Regions from separate parts of the Homo sapiens genome. Here region 2 is linked to region 1. Evidence: promoter capture Hi-C in 16 types of primary human blood cells and fetal thymus (Javierre and others, 2016). All regions are on one chromosome and are shown on one strand. Each heading gives the region's core, a stretch centred on a gene start or on the middle of the fragment in contact. The rest is flanking DNA. Distances are from core to core; before and after follow the strand shown. Region 1 holds the start of ELOVL7 (ELOVL fatty acid elongase 7). Region 2 overlaps ELOVL7 (ELOVL fatty acid elongase 7).

Region 1 (5,947 bases), core at 3,427-5,926:
GAAATGTAGGACATGAGAATTTTAACTAGATACTATTATGTTAGATTTGGCCTTCACAAAACTGTGATATCAAGATAAACTGATTGAATAAACATTCAGATAATATAGTTGGCACAGAAAGCATTTTTATAATATTTGAAGTCAGATCAAAGTTAATTTCATGATCATAATAAGTGGCAATTCTTCACAGTCAAAAATCATGAGTATTTTCAAATAACTGAGGTTTACAGGAAAATAATTATATTGATTGTTATAATAACTTGAGGGATGTTCTCATTCTGTATCTCACATTGTCTTGGAGATATTAATTTTACATATATCTTAGATATGTGAACAGGATTACCAGAAAGAAAATGATTTTTCTGAAACTCATAGTTTGCATTTCAATGCCAAAAAAAATTAAAAGGATGAAGCCTTTAAGTCTGGCAGGCTACAGATACCTTGTGGTAAAGAAACAAGATGTGGGAATGGTTGATAGTCATTTACTCAATGAACCTATCATATTGCAATTATGTTCTTCCTCTGATGATATCAGAGTTATCATTATCTCTCAGAGTTATCATTATGAAATCTATATAAAAAAATAGGAAAACATTTTAAAGCATTTAAATATGAAACTCACAAAAGTACATTCCACAACTTTTCTAAATTTCTTTTTGCCATCTACATATTTATTTAGCACCCACTGTTTGTAGGCTAATATCCTAGGCACCACAGATATAAAGAGAGAGTAGATAAAATATCTTCCCTTTAGGGCTTATAGCACAGCTGGGGAGGCAATGATAAGTATCAGAAAAGATAGGTCACATGTAAGGTGTCTCAGCAACTCTTAACAGAATCAGTTAAGAGCGTGTGTTAAGATGCACATTCCTTGGCCCACTCTCCAGACTCACTAAATCAGCATCTCAAAATAATTTTCAGGAACTTGCATAACATCCCAAGCATTGTGACTCTCAGTAAAGTATAAGAATCACTGGTAAAAGTTAAATCCATATGATACTGACATAGAGTAAGAAGTTGACAGGGTTCAATTTTCTCTTAAAGAATAAAATATAGTGAAAAAAATTGTAATTATTCACAAGGGTTATCGTTGCCTCAAGAGAATACCAGAGGCACTCTACAAATTACTAATAATTTAGTAAAGACAAAGGATTTACAACCATTAAACAAAAATTAGCGTTCTTATATTTACATTTAGAAAATGTAATTTAAAAATACATATACCAGGCCAGGCACGGTGGTTTACACCTGTAATCCCAGCACTTTGGGAGGCTGAAGAAGGAGGTTCTTGAGACCAGGAGTTTGAGACCAGTCTGGGAAACATAGCAAGATCCCGTCTCTACAAAAAATTAAAAAATTAGCCCCCCATGGTGGTGCATGCCTGTAGTCCTAGCTTCTCTGATGCTGAGGCTGGAAGATCGCTTGAGCCCAGAAGTTCAAGGCTGCAGTGAGCTATGATTGTGTCACTGCACTGTAGCCTGGGCAACAGAGTGAGACCCTGTCTTAAAAAAAAAAAACGTTGATAGTAGTGGCAATAATTATAAGGTTCCTAAGAATAAGCATAATAAAATATGTGAAAGACCAACTATGGAGATATATGTTCATGGATGGGTCACCTCAATATCATAAAGATGACAGGTTATCCCTAAATAACTTTAAGACAATTAAAATAAAAATCCTGCCATAGCTTTTCATTGAAAACAAGAAAGAAAGCTTCTTTTCACATTTACATAAAATAGTAAAAGTAAAAGAAAATATAAGGCAGGACACATAGACAGTGGAATGGAATCAAGAGCCTAAACACAGAACCCCGTGTGTGAGAATTTAGCAAATGGGGAAAGGAGGGATAATCTCTTCTCTATTCTCACTCTTGGTGCTCTTAGCCATTCTCATGCCTTTCAGTGTCATCTGGAAACTGACTACATCCAGATTTATATTGCTAGCCCAGACCTCTCTTTCTTGACCTCCAGACTAGTGTAATCAACTACCTACTTGACATTCATTCCCATTTAGATAGGTAACAGGTATCTCAAATTAAAGCAATGCCAAACAACTCCTGACCTGCCCTTCTCCCTACATTTTTCTTTCACAGTTTTTTTTTCTTTCAGTAAATGGCATTTTTTTTCTTCGAGTTACCCAAGGCAAACACCCTGGAGTCATCCTTGACCTCTTTTTTCTCTCTCTCATAGCCCATATCAAATTCTCAGGAAATCCTGTTAATATTACCTTCAGAATGTATTTTTTTAAATCTTCTTTCACTACTACCAACTTGGTCAAAGCCACCTTTATCTCTCATCTGGATTTCCCAAGAGCCTCCTGATCATCGTCTTACTTCTGTCCTTCTTCTCTGCCTCCATACCCCATGCCCTATTCTCAAAAAAGTTGCCAAAATACTCTTGAAAATGTCAAAGTATGACAGTTTTTTACTCAAAATGCTTCCTTAACTCTTTGACCTCATTTCTTACTGTCCTCACTCACTGAAATTCATCTGACATCTCCCCTTTGCTGGTCTATGAATGGAATATCCCACACCACACCCCCAGAGCTTTTAGCCTTGCCATTCCCTTTGAGTGGAATGCTGTTACTGGATAGGCACACAGGTGTGTCACCTTACCTGTTCAAAATCTGGGCTGAAATGCCTGCTTCCACTGGGGCCTTCCCTAACCACTTTAACATTTAACACAACTCCCCACCTCCAAAAGTCTCCATCCCCTTCCCTTCTTTATTTTTCTTCATAGCACTTATCAAACCCTGAACATCACATTTTTTTTCTTTTTTTTCCTCTTTTTTTTTTTTGAGACAGAGTCTAGCTCTGTCGCCCAGGCTGGAGGAGTGCAGTGGCGAGATCTCTGCTCACTGCAACCTCTGTCTCCCAGGTTCAAGCGACTCTCCTGCCTCAGCCTCCCAAGTCGTTGGGACTACAGGCACGCACCACCACACTCGGCTAATTTTTGTATTTTTAGTAGAGACGGCGTTTCACTGTATTGCACAGTCTGGTCTCGAACTCCTGACCTCACGATCTGCCCGCCTCGGCCTCCCAAAGTGCTGGGATTACAAGCGTGAGCCACTGCGCCTGGCTGAACACTACATTTTTTTTACTTCTTTATTCATGTATTGTCTGTCATCTCCAACTAGAATGAACGTATAGTCCCTGAGAACGGGGAATTTGTTATCTATTGAAACTTCAGGGCCTGGAACATAGCAGCACTCCAGTATTTGTTAAATAAATGAATCCATTTGAGCTTCTGCATATTTGAAATTTCATAAGTATATATAAATGGTAAATTGTGATAGACTCAAAGGCTAGTATCATTAGGCAATTGTCTCCCGTTCCCAAAAGACTTCCTAAGTCTACTAAATGATCTGTTTTTAATATGAAAGCAAAGTTATCTAAAAGAAAGGAGAAATCTTTAGTTTTTTTGACTTCGAGATTCTTTGCAATTTAAGCTTTTTTTTTTTTTTTTTTTTTTTTTTTTGCTTTTCTTTCAATGGACACTTTCGAAGTTTTACATAAAAACATTAAAACCTCTTGTTTAATGTAGTGGGATTAAGCTGCCGAAGGCAATCCCTACATGTGAGGAAAATATGCTTCCGACACCCCAATTTTTTTTTTCTCCCTACCCATCCTCTCTGGTGGTCCTGACGCTCCCAGCCCCTTTTTGTGTTTCTTGATTCCATGCTGAGAACTCGCAATACAAACTCAAAGCCCACATTTGTGAGGTGGTTGGGTCAGGACTGCAACTAAAAATGATTATTGTTTTTTAGGTTTCTGGACAGTTCAACACCAGCCTTTGGTTTTGCCTCAGAAGCAGGGAACTTCTCTAGGCCCCTATTTTGCCTTTCAGCTATTGATGATCCAAATCATACCAGCGATTAGGAGGATCATTACCAGACACAAGGCCAGGTACGTTTAAAAAATAAATAAACCAAGCGCAGGTGCACACTCCGAACGCTCATCCCCACCCCCACTTTCCAATCCAACAGTAGGTAACGAGAAATGAATTTTCTAGACTTTTTTTCCTGCAGCAGTTGCTGTTACCAGAAACAAAGTTAGATGATATACAATCTAATCTTCATTGCTCTAAAAGTCCTCTCCCCATGCCCCCCAGGCTGCCTCAATTCTCTAGTTTCTTATTCCTTATAAGCAGGGGATGGAGCTGAACCAAGTCGGCCTTCCCCTCCCAGGGCCTTCTCCTCTTGGTCTGGCTTCCATTTCAGATGCGAATTAACCCTCCCAATACCCTTTCAGAAGCAAGGAGTCCCCTTTTTCTCCGCCTCCAGCCTCAGCTAGGTTTTCCTCATTTCGGATTTTTCTACTGCTCATTCCCAAATGAGTCACGCATGACGACAATTTCCACTCTGCTATGTCAGCCTGGAGATGTCCCCCAAGTGATGGCATCTGCTCTCGGAAAGAAAGGTCATCGGTGCCACGACCAGCCCCGCTAACCCAGAGCGGCCGGTGGGCCCCAGTCCCGAGAGTCAGGGCGCGCGGCGGAGGCGAGGCCGGGGCGGCCTCCGCCCTCCCGGCCGCTCCCCCTCGCGCCGCCCCGGCTCCTCCCTCCGGCCCTCGGCGGGCACCTGGCGGCGGCGGGCAGGGGGCGGCGCTGCGCGCGTCACGCGGCTGGGTGGGATAGCGGGCAGGTGACACCCGGCGGCCTCCTCCCCTTTCCAACCCAGTCGGCGGCCGGGACAGCGGGGGCCGCTGTGAGGAGCTCCGCGCTCGCGCTGCCAGTCGCCGCCCTCTCTCCCGCGCGCGCCCGGCGCTTCGGCTCCGCTCCCTGTGCGGTGAGTGCGGGGTTCCAGGCCGGCGGGCAGGGGCCAAACTTTCCCGGCGCGCGGAGGAGAAGAGACTGGGGAGGGAGGCAGAGCCGAGGGGAACGGCGTCGGGAGTGGCCGGATGGAGGAACTTGGGCGCGGCGCGCGAGAAGTGGGACCCGGGTGCGGGGGCCCCGGGAGCGGGGCCAGGCCCTCCCTGGGCTCGGGAGGCGCTTGGGAAGTTCTGTCCCCGCTGCCTGCGCGTGGGGAGGACCGAGGCCCTTTTCGCCGGAGCGCGGGGCCGCGGCGCTCACCTGCGCCTTCTCGGGAGCCCCCACCCGGCAGCATCCCGAAGGGAAGGTCGGGCCCGGTGGGCGCGCTGCGGAGCGGAGCCTGGACTGGGGTCCCGCGCGGCGCTGGCCCTGCGGAGCGGAGCGGGAGGGGCAGAGGTGCTCGCCGGCGGGACTGGGAGGGAGAAGGACCTGCTCGACCTTGGACGCGGAGGTCATTTTCCCAGCTCCGGGGTCTGGCCTCGCTAGCCACCCCCCCAAATTCCGGAGCCCCTTTCTTTCTGTTTCCTTCCTTCCCCTTTGGGCGCTTTTTTTGCTCCCGCGGCCAGATGAACTTGGGGCGCTGTCCCTTCGGCTCCCCGAGCCGCATCCTGTCTTGGTGGCTGCTGCTGGCCGGGAGGAGGCTGATGAATACAGAGCCGTGGAACAGGTCGTGCCGGAGATGGAAACAGGAAAGCCTGTTGTTTTGTCGTCCCAGGTATCGTTGGTTCTTTGGGAAATGGGCTTTCCCAGGTTCGTTGGGAAATGGGCTTTCCCAGGTTCGTTGGGAAATGGGCTTTCCCCCTTCAAGTCAGAGCTGTTTCAAACTTCACCCGGTGCGGACAGAGCGCTCTTTGGAGCTCCCTGGGGAACTCGGGACGGGAAGGAGCGGGTCTTTACACCTGTCCTGCTCCCAGTGTAGTTAGTCCCGCGTCGACTGAAGAACAGTTTTAGCGACCCGAGTTCCTCGCCAGTGGTCTTTTCCCTCTTGCTACGATCTCCCCTCGGAAAGCATGTTCACTTAACCCTGTGCTCTCGGATTACCCTTTATTTCATTCCTCACTTTTATTGCTTACGTGCTCCGAAAGGGTCATCGATACCTGGTGGCTGCCTCTGCGTTCTTACCACGCACCCGCTTATTC
Region 2 (5,835 bases), core at 2,253-4,752, 58 kb after region 1:
CTTTTTGAGGTAGTGTCTCGCTCTTGTTGCCCAGGCTGGAGTGCAATGGCGCAATCTTGGCTCACTGCAACCTCTGCCTCCCAGGTTCAAGCGATTCCCCTGCCTCAGCCTCCTGAGTAGCTGGAATTACAGGCGCCTGCCACCATGCCCGGCTAATTTTTGTATTTTTATAGAAACAGGGTTTCACCGTGTTGGCCAGGCTAGTCTCGAACTCCTGACCTCAGATGATCTGCCCACCTCAGCCTCCCAAACTGCTGGGATTACAGACGTGAGCCACTGCGCCCAGCTCTTTGCTTTTTTCAAATAGTGATTTATCTTGGAAATATTTCCATATCAGTACATGGAGAGGTTCTTCATTCTTATTTACAATGTCATAATATTTCATGGTGTTAAATCTGTTATCACTTATTAACCAGCTCTCCATTAGTAGACATGTGGGTTGTTTCCAGTCTTTTGCTCTTACTGATGCAATGAATAAACTTGCATATATGCCCTTCTGAATATGTGTATGTATTTCTACAGGATAAGTTTCTAGAAGTAGAAATGCTGTGTTAAAAGTATGCATTTATAATTTTGACTGATAATGGCAAATTGTCCTCAATAAGAGTTACACTAATTTGTACTTCCACTAGTAATGCATGAAGAGAGAGAATTTCCCACACTCCTGCCAACACAGTTAATGGTTGTCTGGATTTTGGCCCATTTGATAAAAAAAATGTTTGAATTTTGGCCTATTCAATAGACAAAAAATATTGCAGATTATTTAAATATGATTAGTTAAGCAACTTTTCATATGTTTGAGTGCCACTTGTATTTCCTTTTCTGTGAACTTTGCCCATTTCCTATTGACTTAAGGTCTTTTATCAATTTTAGAAACTTGTCATATATTAGGGAGAGTAGCCGTTGTCTATGATATGAATTGAACATATTTTTTACTGTTTGACATTTATGATTAAATTTGTTAGCCTTCTCTTATGTCTTCTGAATTTTAGGTCTTAGTTAGTAAGGCCTTTCCCACTACAAGGTTATAAAAGTCTTCTACTATGTCATCTAGTGATTTCATGGTTCTGTTGTTCTTACTTAAATATTTGCTTTATTTGGAGTTTATCTTGGTTTATATTATAACACTTGGATTGAACCTTTTTTTCTCGGATGGCTGTCCAGGTGTGCCACACCATTTAGTGATTAATGTCTGGTAATTCAGTGCCCAATCATTGGAGATGCCACCTTTATCATATAGCATATGCCATATATAATTTTACCTATACTTACGTAAGTAAAATGGCTTTACTTTAGAATCCAGAGGAAAGTCTGAATTTTCTTGTGGGAACCCTAGAAGATTTTTTTTTTTAAGACCAAGTCTCACTCTGTTGCCCAGGCTGGACCAGGCTGGACCAGGCTGGAGTGCAGTGGCACAATCTGCTCACTGCAGCCTCTGCCTCCTGGGTTCGAGCAATTTTCCTGCCTCAGCCTCCCGAGTAGCTGGGATTACAGGCACCCGTCACCACGCCTAGCTGGTTTTTGTATTTTTAGTAGAGATGGGGTTTCACCATGTTGGTCAGGCTGGTCTCCAACTCCTGACCTCAGGTGATCTGCCTGTCTTGGTCTCCCAAAGTGCTGGGATTACAGGTGTGAGCCACTGCACCCGGCCAATTTTTAAAAATCATGGTAAAATATACCTATTATTTTCACCATTTTATATATATTTTCATTTAAATGGTTACCACTTTAACCATTTTAAAGTGTGAATTTCCGTGGCATTAAGTACATTTACATTGTTGTGCAGCCATCACCACCATCATCTCTAGAACTTTTACATGTTCCCACCACATGGCTTTGAATCAAATATACCAGTAATTTTATGGCATACCATTCATTTGGAAGGTGAGTCCTGATTTTACAGATGTTAAAATACGGTAAAATATACATCTTAGGTATATTTTAGTTACTAAAATATTTAGTTACTGAAATATAGTTCTCAATTTTCAAGTGTATTTAGTTTATTTCTGAACATTCTAATCTATTACGTTCGTTTCTCCATGTGCCAGTGCCACAGTGTCTTAATTATTGCAGATTTATAATATCTTTTAATACATAATAAGGCTAGTTTCTCCTCACTGGTCTTCTTTTTCAGATTTCTTTCTCCAGTTATTCTTGTCTATCTGTCTAGATAAACTAAGCAGCTTTTCCTTGGATATTATAGACCTTCCTTTCCCTCTTTCTGTCTCTATTCTACTTAAATTATAAAAATTTGCATATAGATGACTTTATGAGGCCTGAAGATGAGCTCTAAGTCTAGGATCAGTTTATCTTCTCTGAAAGTTTGTGTATCTCTTGACTTTCTTCTCCAGGGTTTCTGCTTTAGCTTTGCCACTTCAAGTGCAGTCCGTTCCTGAATTATGTTGTCAGCATAAAAGGGAGCTGCTCCTATGAAAGTTCTTAGAGTCATTTACTGCTTTTGAGTCTTGTACATAGAATATTAGTCTTTTTCAGTGATGTTAGCAGTGTCTCTAGAAGGATGGAAAACCCGAAATGTCTGCAACTGCATCAGGGTTTAAAGTAATTTACTTATGCATTTGCCTTCAGTGGGAGTTTGTTGTCTTGCCAGTTATTCATATTAAATTTTTAGCATTTTAAATAATGTATTACTATAAGCTTGACTTTATTTGCATTTATAGATTATAAACTCATTTCTGTTTTATTTTACTGAAGAACCCATTAAAAGAGCCAGTAAATCCTGTGGAAAATGGCCTTCAGTGATCTTACATCGAGGACTGTGCATCTTTATGATAATTGGATCAAAGATGCTGGTGAGTAACCACATTTCCTAATTGAGGTTCATCCTTCCTTTTTATGTCAGATTCTCATATTTAATAGGATTTCACTGGAACAGAATGAGAGACTTTGCAACTTAACAGTCCCTTATTACTAGTTAACGAAGAGGAAGTGCACAGGTTTCATTACAGATATGTACAAAGATGGAGCTACACAGATGTTCATTACAATGTTTACAGTAAGGAAAATAGCCTAGATATCCAGTGAAGGGAACTGATCAATAAATGATGACTCATTCTAACTTAGTAGCCATTAAAAGTGATTTTGGAAGGACAGTGCTCTTCAGCCTGATTCTTCCCTAATGCTCCTGAGGGAAATTACAGTTAATGCCAACTCTTTTTTTTTTTTTTAAGACAGAGTCTCACTCTGTCGCCCAAGCTGGAGTGCAGTGGTGCAATCTCGGCTCACTGCAACCTCCGCCTCCCTGCAACCTCCGCCTCCCTGGTTCACGCCATTCTTCTGCCTGAGCCTCCCAAGTAGCTGGGACTACAGGCACCCACCACCATGCCTGGCTAATTTTTTGTATTTTTAGTAGAGACGGGGTTTCACTGTGTTAGGATGGTCTTGATCTCCTGACCTCGTGATCCGCCCGCCTTGGCCTCCCAAAGTGCTGGGATTACAGGTGTGAGCCACTGTGCCCGGCCACTGCCAACTCTTTTGAATGAAAGAGTTGCAGCCCCCAGGAACCTGTCAGAGTGAACAGGGAACAGGAAAACCAGGGAATGACTGCCTGGGACACCTCCGAGTGATTCTGATATGCCTGCCTTTTACCCTTGCCCATTTATTTTAAAAGTCAATGTTTCAGAAGACATTAATGCCATAGCAAGAAGTTTAAAATATGTTAAATGAAAGCAGGTTATAAAATACTCCATACATTTCTTTCATGGGGTTTAGCAGTTATCTCTGGGTAGGATTATGGGTAATTTTTATTTCCGTAGTTATATTTGTCTACATATTTTTAAATCACAACAAATATGTTGTGTTGCTTTTATAACCATTTTTTAAAGTTTTAAAAGCAGAACAAAAGTAAAATTTCAAAAAAAAGAATCAGAGCATCTTAGAACTGAGATGGATCTTAGATATCATCGAAGCTAATGCCTCATTTTACAGTTGAAGAAATGTGACCTCAAAGTCAAGATGGCAGAAAAGACTAGAACCTATGTGTTCTGGTTATTAGTTGTAGTACTCTGGTATTTAACATTTGAGTTTATTTTTGAGATATTGAGCTATACATACTCACCACCATCACTACTTTAGGTTGATTCTTACCTATCAACTAGAAATTGCAAGTCTACCAAATTCAGGAAGGAAATGCACACCTCTTGGCACCTACCACAGATGAAATTATAGTCAAATTTACAACGATTTCAGCAAAGATACACTGTTTCATCATTTGCAGCTTTCTCAGCAGACTACTAAAGACCAAATTTATCTCACTAAAAGTGTTCCCAACAGTTTTTCCTTTGAGGAATGCCAAGGTTCTTTGTAAGTATCTCATAGAGAGAGAAGCTTCACTGTGGTAGGGGATACATAGTGACTATGCCTATCTTTTCTTAACTTTTTTTTCTTAGTTTTCCAATATATGATACACAGAATATTCAAGTTTCTTTAGGGGTCATCCTTCTCTGAAGGTTTACAGTAGTTCTCATAAAGTCAGTATTAATTTAAATACTAATATTTTCATTGCTTTTCAAGGAGAGGTGTGCCTTGCTACATGAACTCTCAGTATTTGAACTTAGGAACCAAGTAGATTGGGTTTTTGAAATAGAGTTATTTGGAAGAACAGATCTCTTGGTATCCAATTCTTGATAGTCACTATCCCAGATACAAGAATCCAAGAGACTCAAATAATCAATATGCTAACTCAAGAGCTGAATAGATGTAGATAATAATAAATATCTATGTAGTCCTAGAAGTTAAAAATGCCTTAATATGAACTTCTTTAGAATTCCACTTCCACTTTTATCCATGGATCAACTCCTTAATTTTTATTAGGAATACCTACATTGAAATTGCTGAGTAAAATTAGATTAGATGTGGAGTGGAGTCCTGACAACAGCATTGCAAACGGTGCAGGGAAGATGAGGGGAGAGAGGCAGGGAGAAGGCAAGGAATACTTGTATTTGAAGTTATGCTCATTTGAAGACTTGGGAGGGGAGAGAGGATATGGGGATTTGGAGTGAAAAGACCTAGATTTAAGGTCTGACACTGCTGTAGCCCAGCTGGATGATCTTGAACACGTTATTTATTGGCTGTGAGTCTTTGTTTCTTTATTAGCAAAACATAAGTGAGAATAGCATCTACCAGCTACCAGATAACATACATGAAAGTGCTCTGCTGTTTCGGAAGTATCCCAACATAAAAGAGTGGTGCTGGTTGTTACAGATGATAGATTTCATCTGAAAATTCTCTTCATATAGCATATACTTAAAAATTGTTTTCTTTACATAATTTTTTTCCCAGGCATGGTCTAAAAGGGTTAAAATGTTTTGTTTTGAGATATACAGCTTTATAAAAAACGCTGTCAGGCATAACAGGAAAGTTTTTTCCTTCTACTTAGTGTAGTATTGATCTCTGAGATCCATTAGGAATCATTTTTGGCCATCTTAGTCCAGTTTTAGTCTGCTTACCCTGGAAATGTCTGAACTTATGATCAAGGGCCAAGAATTTCAAGTGTATTCTTGGCTTTAGCCCTAACCCTGAGTAGCGTAAGGAAACTTACTGATATTCATTGGTTTTCTGATTGCTAGAGAAGTAGTGGTCATGCATAGTTATTTCATGTGGAAAAATTCCACAGCTACAGAAGAAAAAATGGTTTAATTAATACTTAGCTATAAGAGGATTTATTTGGATTCTTAGATGTGAAATGTGAGAGTTTGAAATAATGCTATGGTAGCATTTTGGATAATGGAGAAATGAAAAAGTTTTTAATGTTTAAAATACAGCTTTCCTTGCGTTTGATTAGAAATGATGACTTTTCAGACTTAGTCATGATCCTTT

What was found. The method cuts DNA at HindIII sites, captures the fragments that hold promoters and counts their contacts. A CHiCAGO score of 5 or more calls a contact.
Region 2: a fragment that was not itself captured here is called in contact with the fragment with the promoter of ELOVL7 in region 1 in 1 of 17 cell types (megakaryocytes); the score reaches 5.0 in megakaryocytes.

The regions. Positions count from the first base shown.
Region 1 is chr5:60,842,998-60,848,944 of GRCh38, reverse strand. It overlaps ELOVL7 (ELOVL fatty acid elongase 7), which reads left to right and starts at 4,676. Exons shown (of 9, transcript NM_024930.3): 1 at 4,676-4,785. RefSeq lists silencers at 4,455-4,754, 4,775-4,934, 4,945-5,004. The HindIII fragment of the contact is 2,652 bases long and covers 3,450-5,947 here.
Region 2 is chr5:60,784,309-60,790,143 of GRCh38, reverse strand. It overlaps ELOVL7 (ELOVL fatty acid elongase 7), which reads left to right. Exons shown (of 9, transcript NM_024930.3): 3 at 2,713-2,810. The coding sequence starts at 2,747. Among named protein-coding and RNA genes, the nearest start is that of ELOVL7, 57 kb to the left of the region's middle. The HindIII fragment of the contact is 1,689 bases long and covers 2,658-4,346 here.